Linked DNA regions of Homo sapiens: all the other regions are linked to region 1. The links are contacts of gene promoters, found by promoter capture Hi-C in blood cells and fetal thymus (Javierre and others, 2016). All regions are on one chromosome and are shown on one strand. The core of a region is centred on a gene start or on the middle of the fragment in contact, and the rest is flanking DNA. Distances in the headings are between cores, read along the strand shown.

What was found. Contacts are between HindIII fragments. The CHiCAGO score rates a contact against its expected background, and 5 or more counts as called.
Region 2: a fragment that was not itself captured here is called in contact with the fragment with the promoter of NPPC in region 1 in 6 of 17 cell types (fetal thymus, naive CD8 T cells, neutrophils and 3 more); the score reaches 8.4 in fetal thymus.
Region 3: a fragment that was not itself captured here is called in contact with the fragment with the promoter of NPPC in region 1 in 7 of 17 cell types (naive CD8 T cells, total CD4 T cells, total CD8 T cells and 4 more); the score reaches 8.0 in naive CD8 T cells.
Region 4: a fragment that was not itself captured here is called in contact with the fragment with the promoter of NPPC in region 1 in 6 of 17 cell types (neutrophils, monocytes, non-activated CD4 T cells and 3 more); the score reaches 9.0 in neutrophils.
Region 5: a fragment that was not itself captured here is called in contact with the fragment with the promoter of NPPC in region 1 in 8 of 17 cell types (naive CD4 T cells, naive CD8 T cells, endothelial precursors and 5 more); the score reaches 9.5 in naive CD4 T cells.
Region 6: a fragment that was not itself captured here is called in contact with the fragment with the promoter of NPPC in region 1 in 3 of 17 cell types (total CD4 T cells, total CD8 T cells and naive CD4 T cells); the score reaches 6.9 in total CD4 T cells.
Region 7: a contact is called between a fragment that was not itself captured here and the fragment with the promoter of NPPC in region 1, in 1 of 17 cell types (naive CD8 T cells). The highest score is 5.8, in naive CD8 T cells.

What each region holds. Positions count from the first base shown.
Region 1 is chr2:231,924,946-231,927,645 of GRCh38, forward strand. It overlaps NPPC (natriuretic peptide C), which reads right to left and starts at 1,451. Exons shown (of 3, transcript NM_024409.4): 1 at 1,215-1,451; 2 at 460-770. The coding sequence starts at 1,304. The coding sequence ends at 480. RefSeq lists silencers at 345-434, 515-564, 1,520-1,739 and an enhancer at 2,141-2,700. The HindIII fragment of the contact is 15,333 bases long and covers 1-2,700 here.
Region 2 is chr2:232,255,755-232,258,454 of GRCh38, forward strand. The region is part of intron 12 of DIS3L2 (DIS3 like 3'-5' exoribonuclease 2); the gene reads left to right. Among named protein-coding and RNA genes, the nearest start is that of MIR562, 84 kb to the left of the region's middle. The HindIII fragment of the contact is 3,979 bases long and covers 1-2,700 here.
Region 3 is chr2:232,372,225-232,374,924 of GRCh38, forward strand. It overlaps LOC124906123 (a long non-coding RNA gene), which reads right to left. Exons shown (of 4, transcript XR_007088121.1): 2 at 667-2,700; 3 at 354-490. Among named protein-coding and RNA genes, the nearest start is that of ALPP, 5.2 kb to the right of the region's middle. The HindIII fragment of the contact is 3,123 bases long and covers 1-2,700 here.
Region 4 is chr2:232,340,944-232,343,643 of GRCh38, forward strand. It overlaps a transcript of DIS3L2 not described here and the pseudogene NRBF2P6. Among named protein-coding and RNA genes, the nearest start is that of ALPP, 36 kb to the right of the region's middle. RefSeq lists an enhancer at 1,898-2,407. The HindIII fragment of the contact is 5,996 bases long and covers 1-2,700 here.
Region 5 is chr2:232,388,833-232,391,532 of GRCh38, forward strand. No RefSeq gene overlaps it. Among named protein-coding and RNA genes, the nearest start is that of ALPP, 11 kb to the left of the region's middle. The HindIII fragment of the contact is 7,652 bases long and covers 1-2,700 here.
Region 6 is chr2:232,426,104-232,428,803 of GRCh38, forward strand. No RefSeq gene overlaps it. Among named protein-coding and RNA genes, the nearest start is that of ALPG, 21 kb to the left of the region's middle. The HindIII fragment of the contact is 1,294 bases long and covers 689-1,982 here.
Region 7 is chr2:232,409,835-232,412,534 of GRCh38, forward strand. It overlaps ALPG (alkaline phosphatase, germ cell), which reads left to right. Exons shown (of 11, transcript NM_031313.3): 11 at 1-880. The coding sequence ends at 38. Among named protein-coding and RNA genes, the nearest start is that of ALPG, 4.3 kb to the left of the region's middle. The HindIII fragment of the contact is 442 bases long and covers 1,111-1,552 here.

The DNA of each region.
Region 1 (2,700 bases), core at 201-2,700:
AGGGCGCTCTGACAGTGCCAGCAGAGGGCTACTCTCACTACAGGGGGCATGGTGGCCAGCAGATGATCGATGTCCCCTGGACTTGTGGGTGTAACCTTCCTTCTCTGCTCCCACAAACCCATGATCTCCTCTCAATCCCCCCACCAGCTGGCCAATAGGGGCCAGTGCTGCTAGTTCAGCTACGGTTCAGGGGTGGGTGAGACACCACCAAGCCTGTTTCTGCTTCTCCAGAAGAAGCCAGGTGGGTTCAACCAGGCTGAGCCGTTTCTGACCTTGCCAAAGTTCCCCGATCACGTTATCCTTCGCTTTCTTTGTCTGTAAAGTGGGATAATAAAGGGGGCGGCTGGCAAACGCCTAGCACAACTTGAGCAAAGGCGGCTCGCGCGCCTCCGAAGGCCGGCTGGGCGGCGGGCGGTCCCGGGCCGGGCTGGGGCTGGGCGTCGGGTGGGCCGTACTCACCGCCGCCAGGGGGCGCCGCACTAACATCCCAGGCCGCTCATGGAGCCGATTCGGTCCAGCTTGAGGCCGAAGCAGCCCTTGGACAAGCCCTTCTTGTTGGCTCCTTTGTATTTGCGCGCGTTGGGGTGCTCTTGCAGAAGGCGAGCCCACGCTGCCCGCGACTTGGTGTCCACGCGCAGGTCCCGGAGCAGTCGCGACCGGTCGCCCTTGAGATTGGCGCCCCCGCCCCCGGGAGCCTTGTCGCCCTTCTTCTGACCGCCGCCCGCAGCCTGCGGCTCGGCCAGCTCCTCTGCCGGCGGGGTTCGCGGGACCTGTCCGAGGAAAGAGCGGGCAGGTGAAGGGACACGCGGCTGCAGCACGGGGGACTCTGATGCTCCAGCCCCACGCGCCCGCCGGCGCGGGGTGTCCCTCCCAAGCCCAGAGCCGCCCCCACCGATGCCGGCCAGCTTGGCCCCGCATCCACCTGCCACGCGGCCGCCTTCGCCGCTCCCTCCGGAAGCCCCCTGCCCTCCCTTTGCTGCTCGCCGGGCAGGCCACACTGGGGTAGGGGGCTGCGCATGGGCCGATGTTCTCCGGAGGCTGGAGAAGTGGACCCCCGAATCCGCGCTTCGAGGGCTCCCCGGCTCTCGCCCACGCGCATCTCGGAGGAGACAGCCGCCTGCCTTCCCTCTCTCCTGGGTCCTGCGCGCCGCATTCTCCAAGCCCCCAGCCTCCCACGCCTCTCCCAGGCTCGGCGTCCCCACGACAGCACCCACCTTCGGCGGCGCCCCGGGCTTGGCTTCGGAGGGCCGGAGGGAGAGCAGCGTGAGCAGCAGGGCGCAGGCCAGCAGCTGGGAGAGATGCATGGTGCCGCTGGGGTCGAGGGGCGCACACGGGCGGCAGCGAGGGCGCGCAGGTCGGCGGGCAGACCAGCAGGGGGATGCGGAGCAGGCTGGCTGGGCTGCAGGGCGAGCAGGGTCCCAGTGCTGCGCGGCGCCGGCTGGGTGCGCTCTGAGCCCGTGACTCTGCTCGCGCCTTTATAATCCAACCTGCCGCTGATGTCATCCTCCCGCCCACCGGGCCGCCCGGGCCAATGACACCACGCACGCGGCCGCGCCGAGGGCCGGGAGGGGGCCGCGGGGGCTCCCCTCCCTTATCCCACCCCGGAGGGATCCCGCGGCTCGGCGGGCTCGCTCCAGGCTGCACTTGGAGCTGCAGAGCTGAGCGCACAGGGGAACTCCATTTGCAGCGAGCGCGCGCCCTGGCCTGCCGAGCATCGGTGCGCCTGGTGCCCTGTGCACCCACTAGGTCCTCATCGCACTCACTCTACCTGGAAGGGATACGTAGCCCTCTTTGCAGGTGCAAAGACAGGCTCAGAGGAATGAAGTCACTTGCCCAAAGTCATACAGGCATAAAGTTGGCGCTGCCCGAAATCCACGCAGCCCTGCTTGTCGCCAAACTCTTCCCTGGGCACCTGACAGCCGCGGGATGGCATTGCAGCTCCGCCTTTCACCTGCCGGTCAGGGCGGGAGCGCAGACCACAGCGACGTCGTTAGGTTGGGGAGGCAGAGGATGGGGTTGGAGGACTGGGGTGGGAGGCGCAGGGAGAGCGGGGTTCGCCTGGGCCGCAGGGGGGAGCGCAAGTCTTCCACACTGGAGAGTGCAGGGGTGTCGCCAGCCTGAGTGTTTGAGCGCAAGGCGGGAACGAGGGGACTGCGAGCGCGGAACCAAGATATTCATGCTCATGCGTGTGCTCCGCGGCATCGTATGCTCGCCAGTTACTGCTCTAGGTTCACGTTCAGCCGGTTTCGGCCACACAGAACGTCCCGGGGTCTGACTCCGCTGGTGAACTCCCTCTGTGGGAACAATGCGCACCTGACCTTGCCTGCACCCACGCGAGGATCCGCTGCTGGGGGAAGCCCGCTCCAGTATCCTGTGCACTTTCACAGGCTGGGGAGAGAGCTTCCTAGCCAGCGGCCCAGTCCAGCCTCTGCCAGCCGTGACAGGTGGTCAACTTCCCGTTTTTGACTGTAGAGAGGTCCCCGTGGCTCTCGGGACATGGCCACATATCCCTACCACTCACGAACTTGCTCTCCTTGCACTGGGCTTCTCGGTCCCTTGGACACTAAGGAGTGTGGTGGGCATTTGGGCACTGCGGTGTGGGCCGCAGAGGCGGAGAGCCCAGATCCCCCGAATTGATTGAAGAGCAGGAATCTATGACTGGCTGCTGCTGAGCAGGACGCAGGCTGGAGAGAGAACAAA
Region 2 (2,700 bases), core at 88-2,587, 330 kb after region 1:
TGTGTGCTGTACAGGATTAGTCAGGACCTGGAGTGTACTATGGAAGTCGCCTATTTCAGCCATTTACTTAGGTCAAAAACCACGGGGTCATTCTTGACTTTGGTCTTTCTCTCATGCTACATCTGCATCCAGTCTGCCAGTGTGTCATCGCTGCTTTGCTTTCTGAATGCCTCCAGAATCAGCCCCCTTCCTTAACTACCGGCACTAATACCTGCGTCCAAGCTATTCTCTCTCACCTTGACAGATACAGTGGCCTCCTGACTGTCCTTGCAGCCTCTGCTCTTGCCCCACGTCATCTCCTCTGCATACAGCTGTCAGAGTGATCCTTCTGAATCTTAAGCCTTGTCTCTCCATTAAAACTTTCCAATCTCTCATTCACAATAAAAGATAAAACGCCCCCTTACAATGGTAACTTTTTCCTTGTTCTTTTCTGCCTGTCTTCTGTGCTGGAAATGCATAGACTCCAGAGTCTTCCTGCAACCAGCATCTCCTCTCATGTCCTGGAGCATTGCTGCTCACAGGAGAGAAGCTGCCTTTTATGTGTAACTGAGCTCTCTGCTGTGCTGCAGGCCCCCTCCCCAGCTCCAGGGACCTGACATCAGTCAAGGTTGAGTTTCCCCACCTGCCATCTTCTCATATCCTTCAAGCCTCTGCCCCTTCCTTGTAGCTGAGCAGATCTTTTCCTCCCTGCTTAACTCATTCCATTCTGAGAATTGGACATTGTAGAACTATGTTGTGTACCAGTTGGGGCTTTCTCAGCTGAACCTTCAGTGCTACTTGGGAATCCTTTTATTCGTCACTAGGTTCCAAGCCTTTTTTCTTCGGTTCCAACCTCAACCTTGCTTTCCACTCCTCTTTCCTTTAAGACCCATCATTCTCCCAAGTACCTTTCATTCCTCCTTCTTGGAAACGAGAGAGGCTAGCCAACTTCAACTGCTGAGGTCCCCCTTTCCACATCAAAATTTCTCTCTGCCTTGCCGCTACTTAGGAGGCTGAGGCAGGAGGATCACTTGATCAGATTGAGAACAGATCGAGACCCTGTTTCTAAAATATAAATGAATGAATAAATAAATAAATATTTGGCTGGGCATGGTGGCTCATACCTTTAATCTCAGCACTTTGGGAGGCTGAGGTGGGCAGATCACCTGAGGTCAGGAGTTCAAGACCAGCTTGGCCAACATGGTGAAACCCTGTCTCTACTAAAAATACAAAAATTAGCCAGGCATGGTGGTGGGCACCTGTAGTCCCAGCTACTTGGGAGGCTGAGGCAGGAGAATTGCTTGAACCCAGGAGGCAGAAGTTGCAGTGAGCCACCTGTGAAGAGAAAGCGAGCATTCTGCTGGGTGTATAAGTGGATTGTGTGCAATGGTGCTTCAGTCTAGATATTCATGCCTTAATCTTACTGTGTTCGTCTCTCCCTTTTTCAGGGGAAGCCTGAGCTTTGCTTAGTGATGATGGCCCTAGTGTGAGGACTGGGGCTTGTGGAGTAGCCTCTTGTTTGCTCTAGCCACCCCACTGCCTCTGTCCTCTGCAGTTACTAGGACCTTCCCTAGCAAGTTTGCGTCCTTTCCACCACAGGCATGACCTGCCTCTCTCTGCTCTCTTCCAGCCCGTCCTCTCTCTGCCTAGTCCTTTTCAGACACTTGCTTCTTGGCACCTTTGACTTTTCTCACTGCCGGGCTGCCCCTACTAAGGATGATTGCCCTGTTTTCGTAGCTCTAAGAAGCAGCCAAAATCCACTCCACCTCCCTCCCACCCTCCGTCACTCCAAACAGCCTGGTTTTGTTCCAGTCAGGAAAAGGTTTCTTTCTTCCTCATATTTTTTTGAACAAAATATTTTGCATACGGAAGCCCGGAGCTCCTGCAAAAGTGATTTTGTACCTAATTATTTAAGATTATAAGTTAACCCCACTTGCAGTTTTTTCAGCCAGAGATACATCTTAATGAAGTGCTGACATTTTTCAGAGGATAAATTTAAAGATACATTTGAATGGAACTGAATAATTTTCAAAGGAAGTGGTCATACTTCTGTATCAATATAGAAAGTTGATGTGTGTTTGAGACATACTTGGTTTATTTTACTTCATCATCTGCCTCTGTCTAATTTATGACCTTCACCTGAAATGGAATAAAAGTAACACTAGATTTTGGGTCTGTCTTTAACTGGATCTGGTCTTGGCCGCCACTTAGGAGTTTGTATGACTTTTGACAAGTTCCTGGCCTGTTTTCTCAACTGTAAAATGGGCTGAACAATGCACTCCTCCCAGATGTGTTAAGGAGATTTTAGAAGTAGTAGGTTTAAGAATACTCCGAGTGTTAGACTACTTCCGGTCTTACTTAGTACAGTAGGTAGGCCTTGAATTACAGTGCTGTAGTACATAATTATGTACTCCTTTTTCAGTAGTTTTTTCCCAGTAATACGCCTTCAGTCAGTGTTGGCACTGTATTTAATTTGACATTCTGAACAGTGGTATTCCAGAGTATGTGCAGTAAACTCACCTGCCTACAGAAGAGTGACCCAAATCCTGTGATTAAGAAAGAAAAGAGGGGCCAGGTGTGGTGGCTCATGCCTGTAATCCCAGCACTTTGGGAGGCCAAAGCGGGCGGATCACGAGGTCTGGAGTTAGAGACCATCCTGGCCAACATGGTGAAACCCCGTCTCTACTAAAAATACAGAAAATGAGCCGGGCATGGTGGCAT
Region 3 (2,700 bases), core at 133-2,632, 450 kb after region 1:
AGGCAGGACAATCACTTGAACCTCAGGTGGAGGTTGCGGTGAGCCAACATTGAGCCACTGGATTCCAGCCTGGGTGACAGATCGAGACGCTTATCTCAAATTAAAAAAAATTAAATTAAAATTTGAAACCAGGGGACCAAGTTCTGTTGAAGACCTGGAAATTCCAGTAGGCTGAAGATCAGTGCAACCACCGTGGTCGGCCCTGTTGAGGTGCTGCTGAGCACCCACTCATCTGTGGGTGCTGCGGATTTACTACACTCAGATAAAGCCAGTGTTTCTGGAGTTCCTCCAGGGGAAACTGGTAGAGTTCAAAGCCCAGCCAAAGACCCTAAGAAATCATAAAGGGAACATACGCTTTTCTGGCTGTTACTGTTCTCCAGCGCCTTCTTGCCTCTGGATGGAAGGACAGCTCACTGCTTAGTATTTCACAAGCTCTTGCTTCATCCGCCAACTCATCCACTGTTGGATGTGTCACCGAAGCCAATCTGTCCTGGATCACAGCGACCCGTTAACCCAACAGTTCACAGCTTTTTGCATGTCCCTATCTGAACATCCAAAGACCCCTAAAAGAATTGTGGACTGGACTGAGTACTCCTTACGTGGACCCTTTTAGGGACCACGAAGCCCCCGTTTCTATTGGGCATCCCAGTTGGGCTATTCCCTTACCCTTGCTAAAAGAAGGCGAGCTCCTCTTTTCCCTTGATGGTGAGCCAGAGAGCACTCCATCTGATGGGCAGGCCTTAATGAGTCAGGAAGTCTTTCGGGCAGGTGTGACTTTGCCTGGATGTAGTAATAACCTAACTGATTCCTAGTTAGAAAGGACAGCCTTAGTGACTACTGCTACCCAAGACACAGACCTGTGCTCCTGAGGGCTGCCCTATGGATCAAAGCAAGCTAAATGGCGGCTGCTATGGCTGCCCAGCAAGTCCCTAGACTCCTTAGCTGGAGTAGTTTTATTATTATTATTATTATTATTATTATTATTATTATCGAGACAGAGTCTCGCTTAGTCACCCAGGCTGGAGTACAGTGGTGCAATCTCGGCTCACTGCCACCTCTGCCTCCCGGGTTCGAGCGATTCTGCTGCCTCAGCCTCCCATGTAGCTGGGATTACAGGCGTGTACCACCATAAATACCCTGCTAATTTTTGTATTTTTAGTAGAGATGGGGTTTCACTATATTGGCGAGGCTGGTCTGGGACTCCTGGCCTCAAGTGATCCGCCCACCTCAGCCTCCCAAAGTGCTGGGATTACAGGCGTGAGCCACCATGCCCAGCCTGGAGTAGTTTTAGATAACCGCATAGCTGTGCACTGTTTGCTTGCTGAACAAGGGGAGTGTGTGGAATCGCCAGCTCGTCTTGCTGTTCCCACAGTAATGCATCAACTGAAGTGGACATGTATGTTGAAATGACAAGACAGCAAGCCTCCTGGTGGCCTAGACTGCTTTTCAGGAGTATGTGGGGTTTTTTGGTTGTTGTTTTGTTTTGTTTTGGCAGGGTCTCACTCTGCTGCCCAGGCTGGAGTAGAGTGACACAACCTCAGCTTACTGCAGCCTCGACCTCCTGGGTTCAAGCAATCCTCCCACCTCAGCCTCCCAAGTAGCTGGGACTACAGGCATATGCCACCATGCCCAGCTAATTTTTACATTTTTTGGTAGAGACAGTGTCTTGCCATGTTGTCCAGGCTGGTCTCAAAGTCCTGGGTTCCAGCAATCAACCCACCTCGGCCTCCTATAAAGACGTGAGCCACTGCAGGAGGCTGAGGCAGGAGAATTGCTGACATATCCAGTTTCTTAGAAAAAAACATTTAATAGAGACTTACAAACAGAAGCTATGTCTGGGTCTCAGGTGGCAGTGAGACAAGATGGTAGCTTTACCCCCCAAGACCAAGGGCCACAGGGGAGGGGTGACCTCAAAGGGATGTGTAGGACAATTGAAATATGATAACATCAAAGTTGTTTTGTCCTAAGGGCAGGATTTATGGGAAGTAGGTGCTCCCGCACTAGAAACACGACATGAATGGGAAATCTCAGAGGCCCTCCGAGAACTGGCATTCATCAACCTGGTAGATCAGGCCCCAAGATGGAATTGCCTTGACACCCACACCACCTGAAATAATCTGGAGTACTGTTGGCAGCTGATGTGAGACTTTGGTTCTTGTCTTCTTAGCTTAAAATAATTTAAACAAGAGACACAACAGCAAAGGAGATGCAGCATACAATAATTTTTGCAAAAGAAAAAGAACATCTTGAAAGTGAAGTGCAGAATAGGCAGAGAGAAGAATTCAGGGCAGGCTGCTCATAAAGATGAGACAGCAAAAGTTGGCACTAGGGAGGCTCCCTTTATGGAAATCTTACATGATTATTCATGAGGGGTTGGGAAGAGGTGTTGCTAGTAAGCATGTTCTGGCCAAAAGCTATTAAAAGAAAAGGAGTGTCAAAAAATTTAGGCCGTGCTGGGGGTGGAGGCTCACACCTGTAATCACAGCACTTTGGGAGGAGAGGCTTAAGCCCAGGACTTCCAGACCAGCCTGGGCAACATGGTGAAACCCCATCTCTACCAAAAATGCAAAAATTAAATGGGCAAGGTGGCACACACCTGTAGTCCCCACTACTCGGGAGGCTGAGGTGGAAGAATCTCTTGGGCCCAGGAGGTTAAGGCTGCAGTGAGCCGTGATTGCCCCACTGCACTCCATCCTGGGC
Region 4 (2,700 bases), core at 82-2,581, 420 kb after region 1:
CTGTAGAAAAAGAAATGATGAATGCCTTCCTGGAGGTGAGAAAGCCATCGTGAAACGAGAGGAGGTTGCTCCAAAAAGTTCCTAGAGAGCAAAACAAGGGCCCTTGGAGGCACAATGATTGCCACCGTGGAGACACATTTCAGCGCCACTAGAGTAAAAACACTGCAGACAGGTGAGCTCTCAACAGATACATGTCCCTCGCCTTCTCAGGAAAGATGGGCAGTAATGAGGGCAGAAGCCACAAAGAGGAAACCGTAGTGACAGGACCCAGGGTCCTTCAAGCTGCGGTGGGGCAAGCGCTCGGGACAGTGGTGAGGGAGCAGCTCAGCCCCAGGTGGTGCCTGGCAACCCGCCCCGGGACGTCCCACCCAGGGCAGCAGTAGAGTGACATGGATAGAAAGCTGAATTCCCCAGAAGAGCCTGGAGGACATTGAAGTACTTCGCATAGAGCCTCGGGTTGGATTAGTAGTACATACAGAATGATCCACATGTGAAGATAAGACCATGATTGGCTCCAGAGAAAACAGCAGTGCAAGCAAGAAGAGGTAGCTAGTCACAGTTTACGATCTGGCAATAGCGTTTACACAGTCATCACCATAGAAATGCCGAGTCAGGATCTAGTTTACTGCAGAACTCTATCAGGAGGACTGGAAGATGGGGACGCTGTCCACATGCAGGGAATGCAGTTGGTGAAATGGAAGCTAAATGCTCATTTTCCTCAGTGGGAAGCTGTGGCTTGAAGATGACTGTAAACTCTCTTTCCGCCTCTTCAATCTTGACAGGCCCCAGGGCTGCTAAGCTAATATGGCAGAAGGGACACTGTGCCAGTTGCAGGCCCAGGCCTTAAGAGACTGGCAGCTTCCCCTCTCTGTCTCTGGAAACCTACCTGCCCTTCTGTAAGGAAGCCCAAGCAGCTCTGGAGAAGCCCTTATGGAGGGGCCCACTCTCAGCCCACAGCCAGCACCAGTTGGGCAGCCACGCAGACCCCCAACCTGCAAGCCAGGCCCGCTGAGGCCTCAGTACACACAGGCAGTCCCATCAGCCCTGCCCAGATGGCAGTTTTGTGATCAAAATATAGACGATAGATGATTGTTTTTTAAGGTTGTTGGGGGTAGTTTGTCACACAACGATAGATAATAGAACATCAGTAGGCTGTGTGTGTGTGTGTGTGTGTGTAGCATATATATATACACATATACATATATACACATATACATATACACATACACATATATACACGTATACATATATACACATACATATATACACATATATACACATACATATATACACATACACATATATACACATACACACATACACATATACATATATACACATATATGCATATATACACATATATACATATATACACATAGCTTCAAATTCAGACATGAAGAAGTATCTTATTTAGCAACAGTGGTAAATAGTAAAACACCAAGAGAGAGGAAAGTGGTTGCCTCAGAGATGGGAAAATGCAAGGAGGGAGACGGAACTGCTGTTTGTTTTAACAAACCTTGTAGATCTGTTTGATACTTTAAACTACATTCACATATAACTTGGACAAAAGTAAAAACTGAAGTTGAAAAAAATGTATTCATGCTAATAGCACAGGAATGATCCACAATTGGATTCCAAGGCTTCTTGTACATTCAGCATAGGGTGTATGAAAGAGTCCACTATTCTAGCAACAGATAAAATTCCTACTGACACGCAACCTCAGGTTCCCACTCGTTTAGAAGGCTGCGTATGGTCTTCTACTTAAAGCCTCAAGTAGCAGTCATGGCAGTGACAAATCCTCATTGCCTCCATAGAACCTCTAGGCTCATGTGTGAGCCCAGGCTGGGCTGGGGCCCCTGGGAGCCCAGGGTGAGGGGCCAGTCCCTGGGCAGCTCCGTGAGCCAGGAGCAGCTGTGCCACCTGGGGAAGGGCTGCACGGTCGATGGGTCTTTTCTGCAGAAGAGTGTGCCCCAGCCCTTGCTGGGCACAGATCAAAGAGGTGTTCATGGGTCGAAATCACAGATTTCAAGGGCTGATAGGAGTCAGAGTGGGGGGGCTGGGAGGGCTGAGGCAGGTTAAAGATTTGAGAGGGGCTGCTGTGTCCACAGCTGCATCACACTGCTCTGCTGTCCCCTCCATGTTCCCCGGCACTGCCGCCTACCCTGGGGTCTTCTGGAAGTAACTGAAGGCCCCCTCAACCTGGCTCATCATCAAAGCAGACTGTTGACTAGCTGCAGGCAAATATGAAGAGGCTATTTCCTGTCACAAAAAGGCCATGCTGTATCTTTCTGAAGCTATGGAGCTGACGCAGGCTGAGTAGGCTCACCTTTCACTGGAATTGCAAAGGCCTAGCCACATGAAACCGCGCCTCCTCATCCAGGAGACACGGAAAAGGGCCCAGCAGAACGCAGACAAGGATGGGGCTGCCCATCTTCAGGCCTCTCACAGCCCCTCTGCTGAAGATGCAGAAGCACAGCCCTCCACAGAGGAACGCCTGCCTGAGACTCGGGGCATATGTGACAGGGATCCAGACACACGACTGTTTTTCCTTCAGCAACAGAGCCGTGTATTGGAAGCAAAGCCCCAAAACACGATAAGAGTAGAGGAGCAGACAACCCAGTTGCAGATTTGAAGAAGCATGTGGAATTCCTTGTGGCGGAGAAGGAAAGATTATGGAAAGAAAGTAAACAGGTAAAGGCT
Region 5 (2,700 bases), core at 178-2,677, 460 kb after region 1:
CAGGGCGTCTGGGCTTCTGGTTGGCCTCGCTCACTTCCCCCAGTTCCTGATCCAGGGAGAGCAACGGAGAGCCCTGCCAGAAGAAGGCTTGGGGCTGCGAGTGCGGCCCCCATGGTACCAATGCACAGTTGACCCAGAGCACAGCAATCGCGGCCAATAGGAGGTGACTTGGGTTTAGCCTGTGACCACACAGTCCTGGTCACCCTGCACAGACTGCCAATAAAGAGGGGTCCGAGGCCCAGCTCCTTGGCTCCCCTGCAGTGTCTCCAAAAGGGAAGCTGAGGCTGTGGGTGAGTGGGTGATGCCAGTGGTCCAGGCCCAGTTCCACCTTGCACAAAGGCCTTCTTAACCTTTCATCGAAAAATATTTCTGCAAGGACATCTGCCCAGCAACCACCCGTCCATCCTCAGACTGGTGCCACGCATATCCTTGATCCTTGTAGCCAAGGATAAATATCTCAAAACAATCCTGTGATCCTCCTCCATTTTCCTTTAAAAACCTTTGTCTTCCTTCACCTCCCTAAATTCACACGTGCTTTCCTATGGCCTGCTTATTCCCAAGCAATACCTATTTCCAAAGAAAGTTCATTTTATTTTAGAGTCTTTCTGTATTTGTTATGCAGTGTCACATAGCGGAGCCAGAAGTGGGACCGAAGTGAATTCATCTTGGATGAATCAGCGTGTCCTGGAATCTAACGCAGTGTTGACTGAGCCCCCCGCAGACTGCCTTTCCAGGAGTTGCTTTTCTGTTCTGGTGAATCTCCTCAAATACCCAGATTCCCTCCCTTTGGTCAGTTCCTTTTTACTTTATCCTGGATGTGATTTGATTATAAGGCTCCCTTAAACAAAGGACCTTGCATCCCTCCTGAGGGTATAAAGGTTGGGTTTCTTTCTTTCTTTCTTTCTTTCTTTCTTTCTTTCTTTCTTTCTTTCTTTCTTTCTTTCTTTCTTTTTTTTGCTTCTTTGCTTTTGGCAAGCACTTTCTGGTGTAAAGAGCAGTGCCCTTCTGGTTTGAGGACTCTGAGTTCTAAAGAATTTATGTTCTGTCCATGAGGCAAGTCTTTCCTGGTGAATTCACTTTTGGTTCTGGATGCCTGACTGAATATTATGTTTGATGTGTACACCTTGGTTGAAATTTTGTGAGCATTCTGATTTGGGTTTGATTTTGGTTTGGTTTCCCACGTCTTTAAATGATTTGGCTCATTTTTTTTTCTTGCTTGTTCCTGAACATCTTCTGATCATCCCACAGCAAAAATAAACATAAATAGTTTAGCACCATAGGAAATGTTAAAACACACGTACACACGGTGAGGGTCGGCCCCTCGAGGTGGCTCCTGTCTGTAATCCCTGCACTCTGGGAGGCCAAGGTGAGAGAATGGCTTGAGCTAAGGAGTTGGAGACCAGCCTGGGCAACATGATGAAACCCCACCTCTACAAATAACACAAAAATTAGCTGGGTGTGGCAGCTCCCACCTGTAGTCCCAGCTATCAGGAGGCTGATGTGGGAGGATTGCTTGAGCCCAGGAGGTCGAGGCTACCATGACTTGTGGTCCTGCCACTGCACTAAAGCCTGTTTAACAGTGAGAATTGTCTCAAAAAATACACATATGGTGAGTGTGAGAAAGCCAACTGAAAGAACCCAGGGTGTCACCACCATCTAAAACACTGGTCCAGACTCCTGACAGTCCCTGACAGGGTTTATAGGATTTTCTTTGCTTCTCAGAGATGAAAAAGAAATGGAATGGCATTCTCAGACACTAAGGCGTGCCAGATTTTCTGGGACTCCAGGCAGCTACATGGCTTTCCCTGTGCACATTTCAAAATCAATGGCCATCATTGGAATCATTTGAACTCCTCAAATTTGCTTTTTCCTAATACTGAATTTTTAAACTGCCAACTACAAAGTTAAATGGAGAGCCTTCTAAGTTGTCTACTTCTGTCTCTCTCTTTTCTGCCTACTTGGAATCTGCTGACATTTCTGCTGGCATTAAGATAAACTGATAATATCACACTCCAGCCAACATAAAAACCACTAAGGAAGGGGTCTTGAAGGGCTTTCAAATTAATGGCTCTATAAATTACAACAGCTCCGTGGCAAACAACAACCTAGAGACCTTTTGGAAATGTAAATTCAGGTTTGCCTAACAGTTGCTTCGGGTGATGGAACAGTCCACGGAAGGATTGATATTAGAAAAGAACAGAATGAGAGAAATGTTTATAAATGTTAGGCACCCAGATTAAACAGGTCAAAATCATGAGCTCAGAGCAATAATGAAAAGGATCTCTGTTTCTGGCATAAAAACTGCTTCTCTGCTACACAGGGGCCAGGAAGAGCTGAACGAACTGCTAAAATGCTTCCCACCGGCACGGAGCTGTCAAGCAACTGAGAGTGGCAAACAGAAGAGAAATTTGTTATTGGACTTTTCAAAACTGCTAGGAGATTTTGTTTCTTGTACAAAATCCAGCCAGTCCTAGCTAAAATTAAACAGTTAGTATTTAATCCTTAATCTCATTTGAAACTGAAAAAGGATAAAGGTGGGCTCAAAGAGATTAAAATAAAAACCAGAAAACTAAACTGCTTGCCAGGCGCGGTGGCTGATGCCTGTAACCCCAGCACTTTGGGAGGCCAAGGCACGTGGATCACTTGGCATCAAGAGTTCCAGACCAGCCTGACCAATATGGTGAAACCCTGTCTCTACTG
Region 6 (2,700 bases), core at 86-2,585, 500 kb after region 1:
TTCACAGCCCTCATAAGATTGCTCATAAAGACAAATGCAAATCTTAAAGTTTAGCTTTGAGACCTCTCCCATTTTCTCAGAAATCTCATTTGGATCCTACTGTGTCTTATAAACCTGTGAGTCTGTATTAGTATGTTTTGCTGTCTCATGACCGAAACGCTCAAATTAAAGCCATAAGGTCTTATTTGTGTGTATCTATGTTTATGTATGTTTTTGCATGTTGTATGTTATGTCTCCAATTTGAAATCTGGCACAATAGGCCAGAAATTCCTTAAGGAATTCTATTCAGTTTAACTTAGATTAATTAAACTTGTTAAAATATATAGTGAGCAGGGCATGGTGGAGCATGCCTGTATTCCCAGCTACTCAGGGGGCTAAGGCAGAAGGATTACTTGAGCCCAGGAGTTCAAGGACAGCCTGAGTGACATAGCAAGACCCCATCTCTAAAAAAAATATGTATATAGGCTGGGTGCGGTGTCAAACATCTTTAGTCCCACCACTTGGGGAGGCTGAGGTCGGTGGACTGCTTGAGCCCAGTAGCTGGAGTTCGAGATAAGCCTGGGCAACATGGCAAAACCCCATCTCTATAAAAAAAATACAAGAATTAGCCAGGCATGGTGGTGTGTGCCTGTAGTCCCAGCTACTAGGGAGGCTGAGGCAGGAGAATCACTTTAACTTGGAAAGTAGAAGCTTCCATGGGCTGTGATTGTACCACTGCACTCCAGCCCGGGTGACAGAGTGAGACCCCATCTCAAAAAAAAAAAAAAAAAAAAAAATATATATATATATATATATATATATATATATGCACACACACCTGTGTAGATACATACATATATAAATACATGTATACATATTACATATACATACATATATAACATAGTAATTAACCCAAATACCTTTTAGTTCATGCGATTTAACTACATCTTTGATAAATAAGCTGGTTTTAAATTTGTTGATAAAATAAAAATAGAAATATCTTTAGCATTTTCTTTTCTTTCTTCATTTCTTCCCTCTCTCTTCCTCCCTCCCTCCCTCCCTTCCTTCCTTCTTTTTTTTTTTTTTTTTTTTTTTTTTTTTTTTTTTTTTCTCTCTCAGAGCCTCTCTCTATCACCCAGGCTGGAGTGCAGTGGTGCAATCTCAGCTCACTGCAACCTCCACCTCCCAGGTTCAGGTGGTTCTCATGCCTCAACCTCCTGAGTAGATGGTACTATAGGTGCTCATCACCACTCCTAGCTAATTTTTTTTGTATTTTTAGTAAAGAATGGGTTTTGCCATGTTGGCCAGGCTGGTCTCAAACTTCTGGCCTCAAGACAAAAAACATTAAAATTAAAATTAAAATTAATTTAATCAAATGCCTGGCCTCAAGTGATCCACCCGCCTCGGCCTCCCAGAGTGCTGGGATTACAGGCGTGAGCCACCACGCACGTCCATCTTTAGCATTTGCAGTGTACATTTTCCCCTCGGTTTGTGGGTCAGTTAGGATCATACGTGTCTCTGCTAGATGCTTCAAGGTCCTAAAACTGTATTTTATTTTTTATTTTTTGTGAGACGGAGTCTCACTCTGTCACCCAGGCTGGAGTGCAGTGGTGTAATCTCAGCTCACTGCAACCTCCACCTCCAGGGTTCAAGTGATTTTCCTGCCTCAGCGTCCTGAGTAGCTGGGATTACAGACATGTGCCATCATGCCCTGCTAATTTTTGCATTTTTATTAGCGACGGGGTTTCACCATGTTAGCCAGGCCGGTCTCGAACTCCTGACCTCAAGTGATCTGCCCACCTCGGCCTCCCAAAGTGCTCAGATTACAGGCGTGAGCCACTGCGCCTGGCCTAAGGTCATAGAAAAACTTTAAACCCAACCTAAAAACAGTGATCTTTGTTTGTGTAGTTCTTTGATAAATAAAACTAATTTAGTATTGCTGGTTTAATGTAAACAGCTCTGTCTTAGGAGTTACTGGCAAAATATCCATGTATTTAACTTTAAGCTTCTTAAGTGAACACCTGAGAGTCACAGGCTATGAAAATAGTGAACAAGAAAATACCCGGAAATGAGTACTAGCTTTGTGTAATATCTCAGTATTCATAATTAGTGGAGGTATAATTGTTAAAAATATAAATTAGGTAAATGTAAATAGGATGAATGTCTATAAATGAGCTTTTCATAGAATTTGAAATCTTTTTTTCTTTTTTTTTGAGACAGAGTCTCCTCTGTCGCCCAGGCTGGAGTGCAGTGGTGTGATCTCGGCTCACTGCAATCTCCACCTCCCGCGTTCAAATGATTCTCATGCCTCAGCCTCTTGAGTAGCTGGGATTACAGGCATGCGCCACCACACGCAGCTACTTTTTGTATTATTGGTAGAGACGGGGTTTCACCATGTTGGCCAGGCTGCTCTCGAACTCCTGGTCTCAAGCAGTCCTCCACCTCAGCCTCCCAAAGTGCTGGGATTACAGGCATGAGCCACTGTGCCTGGCCAGACTTTGAAATCTTAAAGTCATGTTATGCTACCTTAACTGACAGATACTCATTAAATATATTGGTCATTTCCAAGTAAGAGAAAACACAAAAACATAAATTGCTGAACACAAATATGTTTGTTTTTGGCTTCTTCTTTTTTTTTTTTTTCTGAGACCAAGTCTTGCTCTGTCGCCCAGGCTGGAGTGCAGTGGCGCGATCTTGGCTCACTGCAAGCTCTGCCTCCCG
Region 7 (2,700 bases), core at 82-2,581, 480 kb after region 1:
GGACCTTGCTGCTGCTGGGGACGGCCACTGCTCCCTGAGTGTCCCGTCCCTGGGGCTCCTGCTTCCCCATCCCGGAGTTCCCCTGCTCCCCACCTCCAGTCGTCCTGCCGGACCTCCACCTGGAGCTGTCACCCCCGGAGTCGCCACACAGACGTCCTGCCATGGAACCTTCCCCTCCCGGTGCACCCTGGGGACCGAGCCCTTGACACCACGCCCTTTGCTTTATCTTGCTCTTGAAATTTTGGCCCCAACTCCAGGGACTGGGGATTTGTGCCTGGCAGCTGCCTGCATTTCAGGAAAAGAGGAGGCTCAGACCATCCAGCCCCCGCCCATATCCTGAGGTGGATCAGGCAGGCTCTCTCCCCGGGGACATGAGGCACCCATACCTAGGACCCCCTGCGCCTTTTTTAGCTTCAGTCATGGCAGCACCTGAGGGACACAAGGACTTGGGTGCATCAGGACGCCTTGGAGAAGCGTGGCTTCCTGCCACCCTGCAACCCACCCTCCCAGCCAAGGAGGCTGCTGTGGTGGGGATCCCCAGGGGGGCTTTGACACAGTCCTCTGCTGTCCCTCCACTGGGCTAATTCTACACCCCTGTGCCCCTCCTAGGGGCCCATGAGTCAGAGAGGCTTGCCCCAAGTCACAGCCACTCAGATGTTCGACGCCCCCTAAGGTCCATTCCAGCACCCACCTGAGTTCCGAGGAGCACCTGGGAAGCTCTGGGTGCAGGATAGCAGTCCAGAGTCCATGGCCCCGCCTAGGCCATCTGGGTGCTGGGCATGGATTTCTCAGCAAGGAAGACTCATTACCTTCCCTCCCTGGGCCTCCATTCTTCTGGGAAACACAAAGCAATAATAAAAGGAAGTGTTAGACAATGTAATGCCAGTACTACTTCCTAGCATAAAAATCATGACTGAATGTGGACACAGTGGCTGGAGGGGTGGATAACACAGGCCAGGAGGGGCTGCTGAGGAGCAGATGACTGAGCAGGAGACCTGAACAGAGTCGGGGCTTGAGCAAGGTGGCACAGCAGCACAAAGGCCCTGGGGCAGTGTCAGCAGGCTGTCTGGGAGGCCAGGGGCTGGATCAGAGGGTGGGTAGATGGGGTAAAGCTTGAGGGGTCAGGAGGGTGGGGGACATGGGGGACCGTGAAGTCTAGGTAGAGGGGTGTGGTTGGAGGTCTTTGAGGAGGGCTGTGACCTGCCCTGGCTGGGAAATGAGCACTCTGGCTGCTGCCAGGAGAAGGGTCTGGTCTTTTGGATAGAGGGTGGGGGTGGTGGAGGGTAGAGGTGAGAGCTGGGGAAGGAGCTGACTCCAGGTGTTTCTGACCTCCCTCCGAAAGCATTCTGGAGCACCCATCCCAATACAGCCATACTTAGTATCACACTTGCCCCAAGAGAACATTGAAAAGAATTAAATGAAGGTGAAATCAACCACATTTTCCAGGAAAGTTTACATTATTACAGATTTATTTGTACATTTACAATGGTACAAGGAGCACTTTGTCAACATGGTGAAATTCTGTCTCTACAAAAAATACAAAAATTAGCCAAGCTTGGTTGCCCATGTCTGTGGTCCCAGCTACTCAGGAGGCTGAGGTGGGAGGATTGTCTGGGGCCTGGGAGGGTGGAGGCTGCAGTGAGGTGCGATCACGTCACTACACTTCAGCCTGGGTGACAGAGCAAGGCCCTGTCTCAAGAAGAAAACAAAACAAAAAGACTTTGTACTCACTAGAAATACTAGAATGATTGAATACTTCTTTATGAAAATTGAATTAACATTGTAAGACGTCTATTTGCCAGGCATGGTGGTTCAATGCCTGCAATCCCAGCACTTTGGGAGGAAAAGAGGTTAGGATTGCTTGAGTTCAGGAGTTGCAGACCAGCCTGGGCAAATGGTGAGACCTCACCTCTACACGTTTTCGTTTAGTGTTGAGGCAGAGTCTCACTCTGTCTCCCAGGCTGAAGTGCAGTGGCAGGATCTAGGCTCACTGCAAACTCCACCTCCTGGATTCAAGTGAATCTCCCGCCCCAGCCTCCCATGTAGCTGGGATTACAGGCGCCTGCCACCATGCCAGGCAAATTTTTGAATTTTTAGTAGAGATGGGGTTTCACTATGTTGGCCAGGCTGGTCTCAATCCTGACCTTAAACGATCCGCTCGCCTTGGCCTCAGAAAGTGCTGAGATTACAGGCATGAGCCACCATGCCTAGCCCCAGATTTTTAAAAAATTTAGCCAGGCCAGGTGGCACGTGCCTGTCATCCCAACTACTTGGGAGGCTGAGGCGGGAGGATCACCTGAGCCCAGGGTAGTTGAGGCTGCAGTGAGCTGAGATTTTGCCACTGCACTCTAGTCTGAGTGACAGACCAAGACCCTGTCTCAAAACAAAACAAAACAAAACAAAACATGTATTTGAGAACCTGGGTTTCAGGACAGTTTTTTCAATTCTGGGTTTCAGTGGCTGTCACAGAAATATGGGAGGTGAACAGAAGATAGACTCAAATAGCTGGCCTTACTAAATTATCACACTCATTGTTAAATTCCATCCATCAAGTATGCAAAGGTTTCTGGTAAAATCCAGCTAGTATATTTCTATCTTCCTAGTTGTCAGTCAGTTCCTCTTTCTAACCAATGTGGAGGTGCTGCATGATTATATTTTACATGAGTGCTCACACCCACGGACTTCTATTATTTAAAACTG